Regions from separate parts of the Homo sapiens genome. Here region 1 is linked to region 2. Evidence: promoter capture Hi-C in 16 types of primary human blood cells and fetal thymus (Javierre and others, 2016). All regions are on one chromosome and are shown on one strand. The core of a region is centred on a gene start or on the middle of the fragment in contact, and the rest is flanking DNA. Distances in the headings are between cores, read along the strand shown. Region 1 overlaps KIF1B (kinesin family member 1B). Region 2 holds the start of CENPS (centromere protein S).

What was found. Contacts are between HindIII fragments. The CHiCAGO score rates a contact against its expected background, and 5 or more counts as called.
Region 1: a contact is called between a fragment that was not itself captured here and the fragment with the promoter of CENPS in region 2, in 1 of 17 cell types (neutrophils). The highest score is 5.1, in neutrophils.

The regions. Positions count from the first base shown.
Region 1 is chr1:10,370,569-10,373,700 of GRCh38, forward strand. KIF1B (kinesin family member 1B) reads left to right here. Exons shown (of 49, transcript NM_001365951.3): 45 at 573-694. Among named protein-coding and RNA genes, the nearest start is that of PGD, 27 kb to the right of the region's middle. The HindIII fragment of the contact is 9,462 bases long and covers 1-3,132 here.
Region 2 is chr1:10,428,519-10,434,350 of GRCh38, forward strand. It overlaps CENPS (centromere protein S), which reads left to right and starts at 1,915. Exons shown (of 5, transcript NM_199294.3): 1 at 1,915-2,050; 2 at 5,324-5,447. The coding sequence starts at 2,000. It overlaps CENPS-CORT (CENPS-CORT readthrough), which reads left to right and starts at 1,915. Exons shown (of 4, transcript NM_199006.3): 1 at 1,915-2,050; 2 at 5,324-5,447. The coding sequence starts at 2,000. RefSeq lists a silencer at 2,013-2,262 and enhancers at 2,513-2,562, 4,638-5,218. The HindIII fragment of the contact is 4,555 bases long and covers 899-5,453 here.

The DNA.
Region 1 (3,132 bases), core at 1-2,500, 59 kb before region 2:
AGAAAATAATAATAATAATAATAATAAGAAGAAGAAGAAGAAGAAGACATAGCAAGACCTTATCTCGAGAAAGAAAATAATAATAATAATAATAATAATAATGACAACAATAATAATAATGCAGGAGGGCAGTAGGAACATAAAAAACCAACCTTGCCCCTTTTATAAATGTCTTGATTCCTGGTGTGGCACTTAGGCCGTAAAATATTTGTAGGCTTGTTTTTTTTCTTTTTTGAAAATATTTTCACCAGTTGTGGTGGTACACGCTTGTAGTCCCAGGTACTCAGGAAGCCAGGGCACAGGAGGATCGCTGGAGCCCAGGAGTTGGAGGCCACAGGAAGCTAGGATTGCATCACTGCCCTCCAGCCTGGGCAATAGAGCAAGGCCTTGTCTCTTAAAATTTTACCTATGTATTTATTTATTGATAAATTATGTATAGGCTTGTTTTCTTAAATGACCTTCTGAAACAAGATGTATCAAAGTGAGGTTCTGGTTGTTGAAACTCCCTATTGTTACTGTAGAGGCAGCTTTTTTCAGCTGAATGTAACTTGTAGTGTTCGGTTTGCTTCCAGTTGTCTGATATCTCTCCAATTGGACGGGATCCCTCTGAGTCCAGTTTCAGCAGTGCCACCCTCACTCCCTCCTCCACCTGTCCCTCTCTGGTAGACTCTAGGAGCAACTCTCTGGATCAGAAGTAAGTACCCAGATTTCACTGAGAGAAGTCAATCTAAGAACCAAGGTAAATGTCAACCTTCCTCTAGCTCAATGGTTCTTGACTGAAGGCAGCACCTTCTCCCTAGGCAGCATTTGGAAATGTGTGGGAGCCTTTTTGGCTATCACAGTGACTGGAGAGGTGCTAGCTACTGGCATCTCTTCACATCATAGCTTACTAACCTTCTGCATCATCAACTCATCATGACTGTCTTCTTCATCCCTTTCTGCTAGTTTTATCCTCCATTCCTACCCCTGCTTGTCTCCCCAGTCATAATACCAGACATAGGAAGTGCTATCTTGGGAAAAATATTTTGAAACTGTTTTGGAAAAAAATATTTTGATTCCACAGCAAATTATGTAGGTAAGAAAAATAAAGACAAGGCCAGGTGAGGTGGCTCCCAGCACTTTCGGATGCCAAGGCAGGAGGATTGCTTGAGGCTGGGAGTTCGAGACCAGGCTGGGCAACATAGCGATATGCTGTCTCTACAAAAAATAAATAAGATACCCAGGCGTGGTGGTCTGTGCCTGTGGTCCCAGCTACTCGGGAGGCTGAAGTGGGAGGATCGCTTGAATCCAGGAGTTCAAGGTTGCAGTGAGGTTTTATTATTGCACCACTGCATTCCACCCTGGGCGACAGAGCAAGACCCTGTCCCTAAAAAAAATAAAAAAAAGACAAATGTAGTCTAGAGTCCATGATTCATCATCATAATCCGTTCTTTGCAACACACCCTCTTGTGCATCTCCATCAATTATGCTCACCTGGTTATCATCCACCTGTCTATCTTATTGTACCAACACTGACACAGGCAAAGGTGGCTGGAGAAAATAACACAACCAGGTAATTTCATTAAATTTAGGATGCCACAGACTGTAGGGACTATTCTGTGCCACTAAGAGAAGAAGAAAAAGCACTGACAACTAACTTAAGCATGCCATCAATTATAAGATGAATCCCAATTTAAGAAATGGTGGCTGAGTGCAGTGGCTCATACCTGTAATCCCAGCACTTTCAGGGGCTGAGGTGGGAGGATTGCTTCAGCCCACAAGTTTGAGACCAGCCTGGGCAACATAGGGAGACCCCCATCTCTACAAAAAATAAATAAAATAGTTGGACATGATGGCATGCGCCTGCGGTTCCAGCTACTCAGGAGGCTCACATGGGAGGATTGCTTGAGCCCGGGAGGTTGAGGCTGCAATGAGCCATGGTTGCACCATTGCACTCCAGCCTGGGTGACAGAGCAAGAAATCAGCCAGGCATAGGGGCATGTACCTGTAATCCCAGCTACTGGGGAGGCTGAGGCAGGAAGATTGGTTGAACCTGGGAGGCGGAGGTTGCAGTGAGCCGAGATTGCGCCGCTGCGCGCCAGCTTGGGTGACAGAGCTGTCACCCAAGCTGGCGCGCAGCGGCGCAATCTCGGCTCACTGCAAGCTCCGCCTCCCAGGTTCACGCCATTCTCCTGCTTCAGCCTCCCGAGTAGCTGGGACTACAGGTGCCCGCCACCACACCCAGCTAATTTTTTATTTTATTTTATTTATTTATTTACTTTTGAGATGGAGTTTTGCTCTCGTTGCCCACGCCAGAGTGTAGTGGTGCAATCTTGGCTCACTGCAACCTCCACCTTCCAGCTTCAAGTGATTCTCCTGCCTCAGCCTCCAAAGTAGCTGGGATTACAGGCACCCGCCACCATGCCCAGCTATTTTTTTTTTTATTTTTAGTAGAGATCGGGTTTCACCATTTTGGTCAGGCTAGTCTCAAACTGCTGACCTTATGATCCACCCGCCTCGACCTCCCAAAGTGCTGGGATTACAGGCGTGAGCCACTGCACCCGGCCACACCCAGCTAATTTTTTGTATTTTTAGTAGAGATGGGGTTTCACCGTGTTAGCCAGGATGGTCTTGGTCTCCTGACCTCATGATCTGCCAGCCTCAGCCTCCCAAAGTGCTGGGATTACAGGCGTGAGCCACTGCGCCGGCCTTTTTTTTTTTTTTTTGAGACAGAGTCTCACTCTGTCGCCCAGGCTGGAGTGCTGCAACCTCTGCCTCCCGGGTTCAAGTAATTCTCGTGCCTCAGCCTCCTGGGTAGCTGGGATTACAGGGGCCTGCCACCACGCCCAGCTAATTTTTGTATTTTTAGTAGAGACGGGGTTTCGCCATGTTGGTCAGGCTGGTCTCAAACTCCTGACCTCAGGTGATCTGCCTACCTCGGCCTCCCAAAGTGCTGGGATTACAGGTGTGAGCCACTGCACCTGGCTAACTTGATTTCAAAAAAAAAAAAGAATGAAGTATGAGAAAAAGTTAAAATGGGCTTTTTAGATTTAGTGAGATACAATGCTATGTTACTCTACAAAGATATCTAGCAATACAGAGTATAGGAATTTATTTCTCACACAGTAGTCAAGAGGGCTGGTCCAGGTCCAG
Region 2 (5,832 bases), core at 665-3,164:
CCTTTTTTTTTGAGACAGAGTCTCGCTCTGTTGCCCAGGCTGGAGTGCTATGGTGCGATCTCAGCTCACTGCAACCTTCACCTCCCGGGTTCAAGCAATCCTCCTGCCTTAGCCTCCCAAGTGCTAGGATTACAAGCATGTGCCACCATGTCTGGCTAATTTTTGTATTTTTTGGTAGAGACAGGGTTTCATCATGTTGGCCAGGCTGGTCTTGAACTCCTCACCTCAAGTGATCTACCTGCCTCGGCCTCCCAAAGTGCAGGAATTACAGGTATGAGCCACTGCTCCTAGCCTCTGAGGCTCTTAAGTGCCTCTGTATTGCACACATGTCACTGGAATACTGTTCTTTAATCCTGGGAAGCAACTGCTTTAAAATGAGGGAACACACAGGTACAAAGCACAGGAACTTCCTGGGACGAATTGTTACAATTTCTTTAGCTCTTATGTGAGGCAATTGTTTAAAACCTGACACCTGCCCTGTGAAGTTGGAACTACTGTCCCCAGTTGATAAATAAGGGACATGAAGCTTGGCCACGTCCTGTGACTTGCTTGGGGTCACCAGGCTCAAGGGAGGGAGCTGGGCTTTGCAGCCACAGTGTGCTCTAAATGGGGCTGCTCACCAACCAGCGACCGGCCTTCTCTCCTGCTGCAGGCTTGGTCTCACTCTGGATGGCCTGCCCTGCCCAGCCCCATGCTGCCCATTAGGGGAATCCGTCAGAGGCTTGCCCTGCTTGGGCAGGAGGACTGTCCAGGTAGACTGGGATGCCCACAGAGAGCAGTGGACAGAGGCGAGAAGTGCCTGTCATTTCCAGATGCCACCCACTGAGCAGATGCAGAGGAAAGTCCTCAGAAGGCTGATTCCTCCAAAAAGCTTTGATCTGGGTTTCAGCCCCTGGCAAGCTTAGGGAACTTGAGGGACGTCCCTGGGAAAGGAAGACAAGGAGTGGCTTTATGTGCTTTCCTTCGTTCTGAAAGTAGCACCTGCTTGTGACAAATGCAGAATACAGAAATATAGGCAATAAAAAATAATAAAACAAAAACCTAGAAATACAGGCAGGGCATGGTGGCTCACACCTGTAATTCCAGCACTTTGGGAGGCTGAGGTGGGATGATTGTTTGAAGCCAGGAGTTTGATACCAGCCTGGGCAACATAGTGAGACCTGGTCTCTACAAAAAATAAAAATTAGCCAGGTGCGCTGATGCAGGCTTGTGGTCCCAGCTACTTGGGAGGCTGAAGTGGGAGGATCACCTGAGCCCAGGAGGTGGAGGTTACAGTGAGTCTTGGTGGTGCCACTGCACTCCAGCCTGGGCGGCAGAGTGAGACCCTGCCTCTCAAAAAACTACAATAAAAACAAACCAAAATTGGGTTTGATGGTCTCACTTCATCGTTAACATAAAGGAAAAACAGTAACACTTGTGTCAGAACTATACTCCTGCCAATGGCAACAACGCAGTTCCTGTTCCACTCGCTGAATGAGGTCACGGGTCGTTCACTCATTGTAGTCTTTGTGACGCTATTGTTGGTGATAGAATGATAAAGTTGATGGTCGATTTTGCAAGATACACCTGAGGTACAGGTGCATGGAGCTCCTGATAATGTGTACTGCGTTACATGATCTGTAAATCGTGGGCTACGCATCCTCTACACCCGACTGGAACACGCTTTGCACCTATGCGCACACGTGTTTCGCGGAGAGTGGTGCTCAGCGTTGTGCCAGGCGCTGAATCAGGCTCTGGGGTGCAGCAGTGACCTCGGTGGTCATGTCCCCGCGTCGCCCGGCCACCTCCGCAGAGCAAGCTGAGCAGGGGGCTGGCTGGAGGCCGACGGCGGAATCCCCTCAACGGAGCGCCGCCAGGGGGCGCGCGAGGCAGGGCGGAGCTGCGTACTTTGTCCGCCCGCGCGGCCCGTCGCTCGCGCCGCGGCGGGAAAATCCGACCTGGCCGCGCACCACCGCCCCTTCTCGGCCCTCCTGCGTTTGCCCAGGGTCGGCCCGCAGTGATGGAGGAGGAGGCGGAGACCGAGGAGCAGCAGCGATTCTCTTACCAACAGGTACAGGAAAACGGGGGTCGGGCTGGGCTGGGGCAGGACGGCGTCGAGTTTCTGGACAGAAAAGTACCCGGCAGCCCCCGGCGGCTTCTCATCGGCACCCCGCCCCCGGGCGCCCCCCGCGGCTGCGCATGCGTTGGCTTAACTGCCGCGGGTGGTGCTGGGAGGCGGTTTCCGCGGCAACGCGGCTGGACCCTGGCCTGCGCTGGCTGGGGAGGAAGCGGTTCTAGGGGAGCGTGCGGGCGCCGGGGTCCGGCGGCGAGAGGCCACCTTCTGGCCTTGCGATGAATCCTCGGTTTCCCCTTCTCAGATGGGGTTTTCGTGAGGGTACAACGTCGGCATTAGACATTCCAGGTGACGCCCGTACGCGGTGGGCGGTTCGGGCCGGAGCTCTGGAACGCTGGCCCTGGAGGCGTCGACCCCTCGTTACTGATGCAGGGACGCGGTGCGGACCAGTCAGGCCCAGAGCTCGTCCTTAGATGTGGGTTCGAATCTCTGCCCCGCCAACTTGTGATCGTATCGACTCGGCCCAGACGCAATTTTCTTCTCTGCAAAATCGTCATAAGAATAATCACTTGTCAGGGTAGCTGCGGGCATCCCATTCGTTCCTTTCATCAGCGCCGGGCATATGGGGCGTCAGAGGCTGAGAACGTTGCCGTGAAGAGGCTTAAAAGCAAGACCCGGAGTGGCGACCTTAAAGAGGACGGACTGAAGAAACGCGGGAATGAGCTCCAGACGCGGGAGTTTCCTCTCTACAAAGTTACACTGCAGCAGCTGTCTACCCTGCCCCTTGTCTTTTGAGAAGTTCAAACCTTCAGAAAAGTTGCAAGAACACGGTACAGAATGCCCAGATGCCCGTCACCTTGATTCACCACTAGTTAGCATTTTGCTCTGTTTGCTCCCATGCTTCCCTCCCAGCCCCGCGATTGGAGAATTAATTGCAGATATTTTGACACTTCGCCTTTACATTTTAATTCTTTAGTACACATCTCCCAAAAACAAGGCATTGGCTGGGCGCGGTGGCTCACGCCTGTAATTCCAGCACTTTGGGAGGCCGAGGTGGGCAGATCACTTGAGGTCAGGAGTTCGAGACCAGACTGGCCAACATGGAAACCCCCTCTCAACTAAAAGTACAAAAATTAGCCGAGTGTGGTGGCAGGTGCCTGTAATCCCAGCTACTCGGGACGTTGAGGCAGGGGAATCGCTTGAACCCGGGAGGCGGAGGTTGCAGTGAGCCGAGATCGCACCATTGCACTCCAGCCTGGGTGACAGAGCGAGACTCCATCTCAGAAAAAAAAAAAAAAAAGGCATTCTCCTACTACATCATTTCAATAAATTGTCCCACTCAGGAAGTGGGACAATTAATTTTGATAAAACTCTATTGAATGTGCATTGTCAAGTGCCCCCACTTGTCCTAAAGATGTTTCTTTTAACTGTCTTTTTTCCTTCATCCAGGATTCAGTTAAGGATGGTGCATTGCATTTAGTCATCTTTGGTCCTGCCTACCCTGTTTTTTTTTGGTTGGTTTTTGTTTTTTTTGAAACGTAGTTTCACTCTTGTTGTCCAGGCTGGAGTGCAGTGGCTCCATCTCGCCTCACTGCAACCTCCACCTCCCAGGTTCAGGAGATTCTCCTGCCTCAGCCTCCTGAGCAGCTGGGATTACAGGCCCCTGCCACCACGCCCAGCTAATTTTGTATGTTTAGTAGAGACAGTTTCACCATGTTGGCCAGGCTGGTTTTGAACTCCTGACCTCAAGTGATCTGCCCGCCTTGGCCTCCTAAAATGCTGAGATTACAGGTGTGAACCACTGTGCCCGGCCTGTTCTTAGTCCCTAGAACAGAGCCTGGCTCTCAATAGACCAACAAATGCTTACTGATGAAGCTGCAAAGATGGGCTGAGAAATTTGCCCCTCAGCTGTGATTAGCTTGTAGACGATTTCCCCCCATTCATGTAACCAACTGTTCTAGGCACTTGGTAGGCAGCAGTGAACAAAATTGACAGGGTCCTGCCCTTGAGGAGTTTAGTGATTTAGCCTCTAAGTGCAGTGATACCCCAGCCCAGCCAGGGGGAGGGGAGGAGGAGGAGGAGGAAGATCTGAGAAAAATTCCTGGAGCCAAGAGCATTCAGAAGAATTCATGTCCTGTACCCTGACCCCCACCCATACCTAAAAAAGATGACCTTGAGCCGGGCAGGGTGTTGTGGGCCTGTAGTCCCAGCTACTCAAGAGGCTGAGGCAGGAGGTTCACTTGAGCCCAGGAGTTCGAGGCTGTAGTGTGCAGTGATCACACCTGTGATCTTCGTGCCTCCCAGGTTGATGCCTCTTTGGCTTCTCCTACCAGAGGCCTCAGCTTACCTAGTCTTGTGAGGTCTGAAATTCAGGAAAGTAGATGCCCTCCTCATCTGTCTGGCCTCTATCCTGAGTTCCTGGACTTGGGTTTTGGCAGTTCCTCCTCCTCTTGCCTATGCGTTGAACACTTGCTGGTAGATTTTATGCCCTTGTGGGTTCAGCTGTCATCACGTGCAGCTCAGCTGTGTCTTCGGCCCCGAGGCGGAGTACCCACAGGTGGGCTCAACAGAACTCTGTCGACACGTGGCTGAGACCATTGCTTAGCTTGTCTTGCAATTGAGGCTCATCCTCCCCTCTCGGTAATTTTCTGCAAGGGGTGGAGAGATCTTTTTCAGTATTGAAAAGGTTTGCCAAGGAGCAGTGAGGGCCCCGTGGAGGTGGCCTCCCAACCCTCCAAATCGAGAGGGGTGGGTGTGCCCTCTTGAGCCTTTCCCGTGTTGTACTTCTGTCCTCTGTGACGTGCAGGCCTGGGGCTGCCAGGGGCTTGCAGCAGAGGGATGGGATCCTTCTGTATTGTTGATTAACTGCCTTAAGGGCAAAGTTCCCTGCCCGGTTTTTCATTGTTTCCCAAACACCTAGCATATGCCCTTACTGAGTTGGAGCTCTGCAGATAGTTTGGAATAAGTGAGTGAAACCACTCAGGGCCTTGGCAGGCATCAGTCTGACCTGTCTCCCCACTGACTTGCCATCTAATTTCTTATCTTTACCTGACATAAATCATAACCATTAACAAGGAAGTAATGTTTCCACAAGTCGCACTCCAGTGGGTCTCATTAACTTATTAGTACACTTGAAAAGCCACTCAGCCATTATGGAAAGCGCCAGAGGGATTGGGCTGAGCAGACCCTCTCCTTGGTCTTCATTTTTTAAGGCGTGAAAAGCTCTTATTTGCAGCCTTACCCGTGAAATATTTTGATGTTTTTCCCCAGAGGCTAAAGGCAGCAGTTCACTATACTGTGGGTTGTCTTTGCGAGGAAGTTGCATTGGACAAAGAGATGCAGTTCAGCAAACAGACCATTGCGGCCATTTCGGAGCTGACTTTCCGACAGTGTGGTATGAAGCTTCGGCCTCCCCAGCCATGTCTGTAAACCCCAAAGGTTGATTTCACCTGGGAGCAGTGCGTGGGTGGGAGCTGTGGCGAGTCTGACCAGCAGACCAAGAATATTATCATCCTCATGCGTTCTTCGTGAAACACTTCTCTTCTTGGCTGTGAGATGTGGATATTTTATGGGAAGAACTATTTTTTTCCTATTACACTAACACTGGGGCATTAACGCCTTTATTTTATTGTTTTAAACTGCCCTGATGGCTAGAACATTAGACATTAAATTCTTTATTTCAGTGCTTTATAACGTTTTTATATCACCCATAGTTTCTTTGACAGCTGAGCTTGTAGCATTGGTATTTGCTTGACTTCAGAGGGGAAATGAAAGACCTC